Regions from separate parts of the Homo sapiens genome. Here all the other regions are linked to region 1. The links are contacts of gene promoters, found by promoter capture Hi-C in human tissues and cell types (Jung and others, 2019). All regions are on one chromosome and are shown on one strand. Each heading gives the region's core, a stretch centred on a gene start or on the middle of the fragment in contact. The rest is flanking DNA. Distances are from core to core; before and after follow the strand shown. Region 1 holds the start of IL20RA (interleukin 20 receptor subunit alpha). Region 2 has its middle 79 kb from the start of IFNGR1. Region 3 overlaps PEX7 (peroxisomal biogenesis factor 7).

Region 1 (3,426 bases), core at 344-2,843:
GTTAGGATTACAGGTGTGAGCCACAGCGCCCAGCTTCTCTCTTCGATTAAAAATAAAAACAAATTTCTGTCTGTTAGTTGAAGGCTCAATATTTGCACGTCAGTCGTTTCTTCCCATTCAGTCTACCCGGGAATATTAAAAGGAAAAATAACTATAATTTCTGATAAATTTAAAAGATAAAATATTTTATGTATAATAGCTATCGTTCAAAATCTCTCCAAGATCTGTGTGCATACTTTTCTTATTGTTGTAACTATATTGAATTTAACTTTTTCTTTAACTACCAAGGACTCCAGATTCACCGTCAACTTTCTTCCTGCATTCACTCTTACTGTTCAGTTCTGGGTTAAAAGACAGCGGGGCCTGAACGAAGTGTCTACAAAGCACAGTATTTGGAGAAGCTTTGTTGTTGTTTTTTAAAATAATTTTTTTAAAAAGGGATCCCGGATATCTTTTTTGTTTTTTTAAAAAATCTTTTTCTCATGTACGAGAAATACAGGGAAAAAAAGCAATCAGGTTAATGAATCATTCTGGTTTACTGGATTCCAATTGGTAGAGAATTTAAACTTAAAAACCAAACAAAACGAAAGAGCTCTTCAGTTACCTTATGTCGTAAACGAGTTAAAAGTTTTGTTATTTCTGAAAAATCAAAGAGCACTATCTGTACATGGTCATAACTGCAAAGGAAACAACGGCGTACCCAGGACAGGGGGAGCTTACTTTAAGAAGCTGCGTCTTTCTGGATCATGTTCCTTCGGGGCTGACCCTTTCGGGGAGTTTGGCTTTTAAAGCGCGGATCTCGCGACGCGCGGCTTGCAGGACTGCGGGGCCCGGCGGCCGAGACGCGGCATCCACAGGGGCCCCTCCGCGCGGCCGCGGCGGTGGTGGCGGGAACCTGGGACTGGCCGGCGAGGGGCCCCGCATGGTAACCGTCCCCGACCGCAAGTCATAGGCTGTGGGCACCGCGCAGAGCGCACCCCCCACCGAACTCCCCCCACCCCACCTCAATTCTCGAGACCGAAAGTGCGGAGCGCGGAGTCCTGCAAACTTGACCCCGAGCCAAGGTGCGCGAGGCGACGGCGAGTGTCCCCCGGGCTCCCTGCAGCCCCGGGGCTGGAAGCTCCGGCCTCCGCGCACCTCGTCCTCTGCCCGCCCGAAAGCGAAACCTGGCCGGCGGGCAGGAGGGGAGAGCTCGGCCTCGAGCTCTGCCTGGCGGGGCCCCGGCCTGGAGGCATCCCCGACCCGCACCTGGCGGCGCGACCCACCTACCTGCCCGTCCCCAAGGCGCCGCCAGGAGCAACAGCAGCAGCGGCGGCAGCGGCAGCGGCCGCAGGGCCGGGCGGCCGGGAGCCCGCATGGGCGGCGGGGCTGGGTCACATGTCGGGGGGCAGCAGACTGCTCAGTCCCACGCCCGCTGGGGCCAAGCGCGGCCGCGCGGCCTCAGCTCCGCGCCTGGGGCTCTGCGTGCCACGCTCCAGGCGACCTGAGTCCCAGGGCGCCTCCGCCACAGCCGCGTCCCCCAGGCTTCCCCAGAAACCAAGGGCGAGCGACTCGCGGAGCCCCCACGCGCGCTCCCCCGGCTACCCAGCTGGATGGCAGCGCGAGGGCAGTTCTCGCGGATTTATAGTCCCCAGCCACTCGGCTGTCAGTCCTGAGAGTCTGAGAGTTTCCACCTCTCGGGGTTCATGCCCAGACCAACCAGGTCACTAGGCAGGTAAAACCTCCTTCTGGTAATGAGCGAGGCGAGTGCATTGCAAAGAGATTCTGGTATTCAGGCCGGTCTGATGGTCAGTTAAAGTTCAATATCGGAAGACGGATGAAATAGAGCGTTATTTCTCGATATACAGTTAGGCACTCAGCCGTAGATCTTACAGTCATGCATCATTTAAGATGACAGGATTACCTCCTGAGAAATGTCTTAGGCGAGTTTCTTGTGTGAACATCTTAGAGTGTACTCACACCTATATGGTATAGCCTCTTACACGCCTACGCTATATGGTACAGGCTGTTGTTTGCTCCTAGGCTACAAACCTGTACGGCAAGTGACCATACTGAATACTGCAAGCAATTGTAACACAATGGTAAATATTTGTGTATCTAAACATGTCTGAACGTAGAAAAGGTACAGCAAAAGTACAGTATGAAAGATTTTAAAAATGGTACACCTGTATAGGGCACTTTCCATGAATGGAGCTTGCAGGACTGGAAGTCGCTCTGGCTGAGTCTGTGAGTGGTGAGTCAATGTGAAGGCCTAGGACATCACTGTGTACTACTATAGGCTGTATAAACACTGTATTACACTTAGGCTATGCTAAATTTATTAAAAAATTATTTCTTCAATAATAATAAATTAACCTTAGCTTACTATGATTTTTTACTTTCTACTTTTAAATCTTTTAAACTTTATTTATTTATTTATTTTTGAGATGGAGCATTGCTCTGTAGCCCAGGCTGGAGTGCAGTGGTGCGATCTCGGCTCACTGCAACCTCTGCCTTCCGGTTTTGATGATTGTCCTGTCTCACCCTCCAGAGTAGCTGGGATTACATGTGTGTGCCCCCACGCCCGGCTAATTTGTTTGTATTTTTAGTACAGACTGGGTTTCGCCATGTTGGCCAGGCCGGTCTCGAGCTCCTGACCTCCGGTGATCTACCCTCCTTGGCCTCCCAAAGTGCTGGGATTACAGGCGTGAACCACGACACCCGACCTAAACTTTTTGACTTGTAATAACGTTTGACTTAAAACACAAACACATTGTGCAGCAGTATGAAAATATTTTTTCTTTGTATTCTTTCTATAAGCTTTTTCTATTTTTAAATTTTTCTTTTTCTTTATTTTTTCTTTACTTTTTAAACTTTTTTGTTATAAACTAAGGCACAACCACACACATTAGCCTAGGCCTGCACAGGGTCAGGATTGTCAGTGCCACTGATGCCACCTCACATCCTGTCCTCCTGGAAGGTCTTTAGAGACAATAGGAATTTTTTCAGCTCTATTATAATCGTATGAGACCACCTTTGTATATGCAGTCTGTCACTGACTGAAAAGTTGTTATTTGATTTCATTCAACTCTCACAACCTGCAGTTAGGTCCTGGCCCTTTTTTCAGATGAGGCAAGGGAAACTCAGAAAGTCTAGGAATCATCATGAAGTCCCCCAAACCTGTGAGTGGCCTGTGACCAGTGGTGTGTGGACTTCCACACAAGGCGGTGGGTCCTAGGTTCCATGCTCTTTATAATGGGAGGGGGGAAGGGTGCAATTAAGAGGTGAGTCTTGAAATACTATATGAAAAATCTGAGAGAGGCTCTCAGCTTTGTACCTTTCTAGGTGGTTCTAAAGGTTGGGCACAGCCTGAAGATAGATACACGATTTACCTCAGATGTGTTCCATCTCTTTTGCCCTTAAATGTCTGTTTTCAAATGCTCCAAT
Region 2 (3,426 bases), core at 514-3,013, 250 kb after region 1:
CCTCCTCAGCCAGGGTGCTCTTAAAATGTAACCTGAGAGACTGGTTCAGGCCACGATGGGAAGTGGGGGGTCAGACATGCTTCATTATACCTCTCTGGTGTTAACATAACATAGACCTTAAGTCGGATTGAAACATTTGCAATCTATTCTCTCTGAAGCCTGCTACCTGGAGGCTTCATCTTTATGATAAAACTGATCTCCACAACCTCTTATCCCAACCCAGGCATTTCCTTTCTATTGATCCCAGGTATTAGATAAACACAACCAATTGTCAACCAGAAAAATTTTAAATCTACGTACCACCTGAAAGCATCCCTCCCTTTTGAGTAGCCCTACCTGTCTGGACTGAACCAATGTACATCTTAAATGTATTTGACTGAAGTCTCATGTCTTCCTAAAATGTGTAAAACCAAGCTGGACCCAACCGCCTTGGGCAAACATTCTCAGGACCCCCTGAGGGCTGTGTCACGGGCCACAGTCAGTCATGTTTGGCTCAGAATAAATTTCTTCAGAATACAGAATACAGAATAATATTCTTCTGTAATAAATTTTACAGAGTTTGACTCTTTTCATGGACACTATGAGCCAAGTATCTCTAATATTCAAGGAGTACGCAAAGGCCTCTGTGGCATGATGGTCAATCCTATGGAAAATGAACATCTTGCCTTAACTAGAAGTATAGAATGTGCTGATTAGGGCTATGGGCTCTGAAGTCAGGCTTCCCAGTTTGAGCTCTCTGCCAGATTTAGCTGTGTGACCTAGGGCTTTGTCATTTGAAAAATGACTATAAGAATAGTACCTGTTCATGAGGTTGAGAGGAGAAGGTGAGGATTAAATGATTTCAACCTTGTTATGTGTGCAGCCCAGGGCTTTCAGCATAGCAAGCATTTTATACATATTAGGCCTCGCCAGTTTCACTGAGAGTTTTGAAGAGGAATAAACAAGTAACTTCTGATATTATCTAAAGCTGAAGCCCAGAAAAGCACACTTGTGAAGGGAAGTTTCACTGTGTAACATATATTCAGGTTACGTATTTTACAATTACACATGGGGATAAATTCATTGATCTAGGCAGATTTTAATAGGTCTAGCTGGAAGCTTCAGAAGTGCAGTGATGGAATTAATTAGATACTAAGTCCTTGATGAAATTTGAGAATTTCATTGAGTCCTTGATTTGAGAATTGAACGTATTCAAAAGCCTTGCCCACAAGCTTGTAATCCCTATGGAACCAACCAAACTCATCAAGAAATGAGTATGTTTTTAAAGTCCAATTTGTGATAAATAGCTCTTTTTCCATTTTCCTTGCTTTCTGCGAGACAGGGGTGAGAAGCTCTGCTGAAGGTATTTCCTTAATGAAAGTGTTTCTTTTATCACGGAAAGGAAATATTGAGTTATTCCTGACAATTCCCCCTAACTATGAGCTCTGTAGCTCTCTAAGGAAGGAATCCTGTAGCTTTTCCTGAGATGCAGGGTCTGCCCGGCAGGGAGAGTGAAATAGACTAAGTCTGCCGCTCAGCTGCCTTTGTCAAGGGCCAGACCCTGGCCTTGGGAACTGACTCGCGGCAGTTTGCAAATGTATGTGCTTGGTGGGAAGCCTGCAGTTCCCTTTATTCTTGAACCACAGGAAACCTGATAGGGAAGCCGTAGTGTGTCATCCCTGACTACCCCAGCTTCCAAACAGGAACATCATGAGTAACTTTTCAGACAATATCAAACATGAACATTCAGTGTTTAACCAATTCTTTCTCCAGATGCAAATAACAACTTGTTCTACATCCTTTCCTACAAACCTACTGTTTAAACAGCCAAGTAAAAGAACAGATCTTCCACTAGGTTTGAAGCCTGAGTTTTTTACAGGGAATGAATAAGAATTTCTAATTTTTCTACCTCCCTCACTGTTACCATCCAACTTTTATTTCTCTTTCCTGGTTTTCCTTAAACCCCTATGGAAAGCCAACAAATCAAAACTAATGAGAGCGTTCAGGACATGCTACCCCTAAATATAGGGGCACTTGGAATACTGAGTGTTTTAAGCTGAGGGAAACTGAGAACATTGTAGAAGCAGGAAGGCCTCCTGAAACTTCTCCCACCTTCTTTTCTGAAGCAGACTAGGAAAGTAGAAAGAATTTTCTTACCATCCCCTGAAGCAGGTCATAAGACCCTCATTTGAGATGTATCTTTTCTGTACCCAGAGGAAAGGAGTATCTTTATCTGTGAAGACACAGGGACTCTGAGAAAAATCTCAGCAATAGGCCTTGCTATGATTACCTTTAGATCACACCCATCTTGTCCTCTAATCATACTTCCCCATGACTGTTCGCTTTTCATTAAGCCTAAGCATAAAAATGCACAAGTTTACCTGTTTCTTTGATCTTCATATCCAAAGGCTCCTGTGTCACGTAAAGCTTCTATTAAATAAATTCATATGCATTTCTCTTGTTAATCTGTCTTTTGTTATAGGGGCTTCAGCCATGAACCTAAGATAGGAAGAAAAGATATTTCTTTTGCCCTATACTATTCTTTTTACTGGTATTCAGAATGACTAGGAATTAAAGACTTTTCCTATCAATTGTTTTCATATATGTACCTGCCTCTGTCTAAAAGCTTAGGAAATACACCTATGGAAAAGAGATAAATCTGTCTCCCGTCATGCTGTAGGATACATCTTTTACAACACAGATGACCCCCAGAAGAGTGATTTTTTATGCTCATTCTATACCTAGTTTGTTTTTAACTTAGTTGTGAGTGAAGCTCATTTCTTTTCCAAGCCCCACTGAGGTAGACATTACAAGTGTTCATCAATCTCTGGCTATTTTCTAATTCTGGGTGTATGGAGTGACACACTTTCCCACCCCCTTGAATTTAGGCTTGGCCACTTAGTTTTCTTAGGCCCATGAAGTGTGAATGGAAGTGACCTGTGTAGAAAGTGTTGGGAGGAAACTTTTCCTCTACCATTTTAGGCTTGGATTGTTGGGGCCCTGTGAGTTAATGGACAATAGGTAAACTAACAGGAGAAATGACAAGTTTATTAACCATGTCCATGTACACTGGGGAGTGCTTTAGTAACAAGTAAATCCCCTTTAGTAATGAGTAAATATGATAAATCTTTTCTTGATTATCTCTCTCATTCTAAAATATTCATTTTTAAAAGAGATGTTATTATCATGTAAATAACATGACTCATTTTCTTCAGGGATTCATGAAAGATGTCTGTCCAAAGCTAAAAGGTTATACACCAATTTATCCACTAGCAAGAAAAGGAGAGGGGGAGTTTAGGACTTCAGTGAGAAAGTATGGAAGGTTCTATTGGGCTTTTAAATGCTCATGGGAAGCTGAATTCATACTTCCTAATATTTAAAAGTCATTCTTCTGCCAAACAGGAAACTCCCTCGGAAGGACAGGGGTGGCCATTTCTCCTATTTCAG
Region 3 (3,426 bases), core at 291-2,790, 160 kb before region 1:
TTAACAGTTTTAATTGGGACATCTTAAATCCATTTCAGTGCTTTGTTTCTGATTAAAGAGAAAAATCTAATGACTACTGAGACTTTCTTCTCAGAATTGTCATTTTGATCTTAATCCTAGTGACTGACCACTCCCTGTTTTATGTATTTAAGTACCCCTAAACACCCTGTGGGAAAATGCCTTGTTCTCAGGAATGTTTGTTAAGACTGGATGTCAACTACATTTCTGAAAATCTTGGGAGTATCAAACCATGCTCAGAATCATCATAGTTTTTGGCTTTCAGTCTTACTTTTCTCTCCACTGTTAAATGCTGAGTCCTGAGCAAGGACAGGGAGCGGGGGATAGATATTTAGTGCCCCTGGGGAGGGAGGTGGCTTAGGTCATGGTCCTGAGACCAGATCAAAGGTGTTGTAGCTATATTTGTAAGCACTTGGAAAAATTGAGATTTATAGTTCAATAATAGGAGATCTTTAACGTAAGTTAAACAGAAAGTTAAGAAGATATTTGAAATCAATGATCGTGTATAACTTAGAGTCCAGGTTTCTTTTATTAATGTGTAATATGGCAACTAGTGATATCTGTGCTCACAAGCTCACAGGGTGATTACAAGAAATATATGAGAAGACGTTCTTGAAAATACTATGATAATTCTTAATTGCTTTTCCCCCTCTTCTTCTTCTTTTTTTTTTTTTTTTTTTTTTGAGACAGTCTTGCTCTGTCACCCAGGCTGCAGTGCAGTTGTGTGATCTTGGCTCATTGTAACCTCCACCTCCAGGGTTCAAGCGATTCTCCCACCTTAGCCTCCTGACTATCTGGGACTACAGGCACACATCACCACACCCAGCTAATCTTTGTATGTTTAGTAGAGACAGGGTTTTACCATGTTGGCCAGGCTGGTCTCGAACTCCTGACCTCAAGTGATCTGCCCACCACAGCCTCCCAAAGTGCTGGGATTATAGGCGTGAGCCCCCGCACCTGGCCCTTTGCCTCTCTTCTAAAGCCATCTTTCCAACCCTATTCCCTGCACATTCAGCAAAAGATCTTACCTTTAAAATAATAATAATAATAATAATTGTGGGACTCAAGCACAAATTATCTTAATTTCTAAGCTGGGCCTGCAGATTTTCTCTAAATCTGTACCTCTTCATTCCTCCTGTTATTTAGATCCCTTAGACATGTGTGCTGTTGATCCCTCGTACTTGTTTTCTTCAGGACTTTACGCCGTGAAGTGACCTGTTCTCCCCCTATATCTCTCTATATCTTTAGTCTCCAACTCTTTAGTGACTTTTTCCTCAGCCTGTAACATTTTCCTTCATCCTGCATTTGCCTTTAACTCCTCTCTTACATCTCTCTTTTTTACTTAGCCAAGCTTTTAGTGTCCGCATAAGCTTCCATTCACCAGGGCCATTTTAAGGTCTTCACTGTCCCAGCGTACTCTGTGTTGGAGGTCTTACCCTGGATCACTAGAACCTATAAAATGGATCTACATCACTGATTAAATAGGGTTAATTATTTTGAAAAGATTTGTGGCTTTTGCTTTTGAAGTGATTTGGATTGAGTAAGTCACTTATGATTGATTATGACTTCTTGGCAATCATTATGCTTGCTAAGGAATTCATGTGAAGTAAAAAAGAAACATCCCTAACCTAGAAATTGTTTCCGAGTGGAATGAAATGTTTCTGAGTGCCAGGTTTATCAATTAGTAATGTTAATTTATTAATTTTAAATTTAATTATTTTAAGTTTAATTTAAATGTTCAGGTCTCAGGCATTTTTGTAGACCTTTGAAAGCTTATAGGCATAGGCACTTAAGGTTCTTCCTAATGGCACAACTAGCTTCAGTCCCTCCTTCTTTACTGAAATTGCTCTGGCAAAAGCCACTAGCGACCTCTGTAAAACCAAATCCAGTCCACTTGTCAGCATTTGTCATGCTGAACCTTTTTCTGTTTTACACCGTCGATCATACCTTCCCTTCTGGAAACTCCTTATCCTAAGGATTCCATGTTCTTTTTTGTTTATTTGTTTTTCTTACTCTCCTCTGACCCTTCCTTCTTAGGGTTCATCATAGAATCAGTCTCCTTCTCTTCCCCTTAAACTTGGTCGTCTCCCTTTGGTTTAGAACTTTTTTTACATGCCCGTTCTAAATGATAATTTCCAGCCCCTGTGTCAGGTCTGGCCTTTCTTGAGAGCCTTAGGCCTGCATATTCAGCTGTTTCTGGACACAGGCACCTGAGTGTCCAAACAGGAATCTCACACTGAACTCCTTCTTTGCTTGTTTATCTGTGTTATTTATCTCAGTTAATGGGAAACTTATCCCTATTCAAACAAGCCAAAAACCTGGAATTCTCCTTTTTCTTGAAAAATTGGTAAACATTTTCCCAGTACGAAGTGGAGCATTGCTTCACAGGCAGTATATAGAAGCAACATCATTTTTTTTAGAAATATAATTTTAATTTTAACATTCGTTGTAGCTACTAAATTACTGTTTCACCTCCATGCTAAATGTAACTGGAGGCTAGTGATTGCATATTCCAATATAGGATTATCGAAGACTTTCTTGTAACAAGGAAAATAAATAGAAAAGGAAGCCAAAATCATTTGAAAACCCTTCACTTTTGACTATATTACATGTATATATATTTGTAATTCTCAACACATGTCGAGAATAAGACTTTAATCGTTCTAATGCCTGTGTGAGTCTAGTCTCATTATTTGAATGTGGTGACCACTGATTGGAAAGGTCAGAAAAGGTGCATTTTTGGTGGATTTTTACTCCATGTGATATGAGTTAAATTTATCCTCTGAAGAATTTTAAATCTGATTGGATTGATGATATTTTTAGTGTCAGAAAACCATTTTAACAAGAAGAAAAAGATTTCAGATATAAGACCAACAGTAACCTGTTTAATTTTTAGGACTGATAACTATACAGATACTACCTTTAGATTCTCTGGATGGCTAATATTTGCAACACAAGCTTTTTAAATATAAGTTTTTAATTTGTTGCCCATTGTTATATTTAGGTTTGTAAATTTTTCAAATTTAATTTTAAAATTGTTTATATGGTGGGTGTTATATCAAAACTGATGATATGGTGGATATTTTAGAAAATGTAAGTTTCATATTTCTATTTGAAATTCATGTTGCTATTTACCAAATATAATAGAAGCTTTAAGACCTTTACCTCTGTAGTAGCTCATTACATTTCACAGAATAACTAATGAAGATCTAAGAAGTGATATATAACATAGCATTGGAAATTGTTTAGTATGGTTTATGTTAAATAAAAACTTCAACTTTTATGAAGAATATCAGAACTCCCTTCAGCTGGTGGACAATATAGTCTATCAAAATACATCTTGATTCTTTCTAAACTTCACTCAAGATAATACTAAAGTTAAAATGTTTCATAGTAGATTATTTCTAT

The links. Contacts are between HindIII fragments. The study calls those that stand out against the background at their distance.
Region 2: a fragment that was not itself captured here is called in contact with the fragment with the promoter of IL20RA in region 1 in 2 of the 25 tissues and cell types used here (aorta and hippocampus).
Region 3: a fragment that was not itself captured here is called in contact with the fragment with the promoter of IL20RA in region 1 in 1 of the 25 tissues and cell types used here (thymus).

The regions. Positions count from the first base shown.
Region 1 is chr6:137,043,372-137,046,797 of GRCh38, forward strand. IL20RA (interleukin 20 receptor subunit alpha) reads right to left here and starts at 1,594. Exons shown (of 7, transcript NM_014432.4): 1 at 1,270-1,594. The coding sequence starts at 1,357. RefSeq lists silencers at 1,087-1,136, 1,207-1,316, 1,347-1,406. The HindIII fragment of the contact is 8,751 bases long and covers 1-3,426 here.
Region 2 is chr6:137,296,496-137,299,921 of GRCh38, forward strand. No RefSeq gene overlaps it. Among named protein-coding and RNA genes, the nearest start is that of IFNGR1, 79 kb to the left of the region's middle. RefSeq lists an enhancer at 1,221-1,847. The HindIII fragment of the contact is 3,451 bases long and covers 39-3,426 here.
Region 3 is chr6:136,881,497-136,884,922 of GRCh38, forward strand. The region is part of intron 8 of PEX7 (peroxisomal biogenesis factor 7); the gene reads left to right. Among named protein-coding and RNA genes, the nearest start is that of SLC35D3, 39 kb to the right of the region's middle. The HindIII fragment of the contact is 3,064 bases long and covers 9-3,072 here.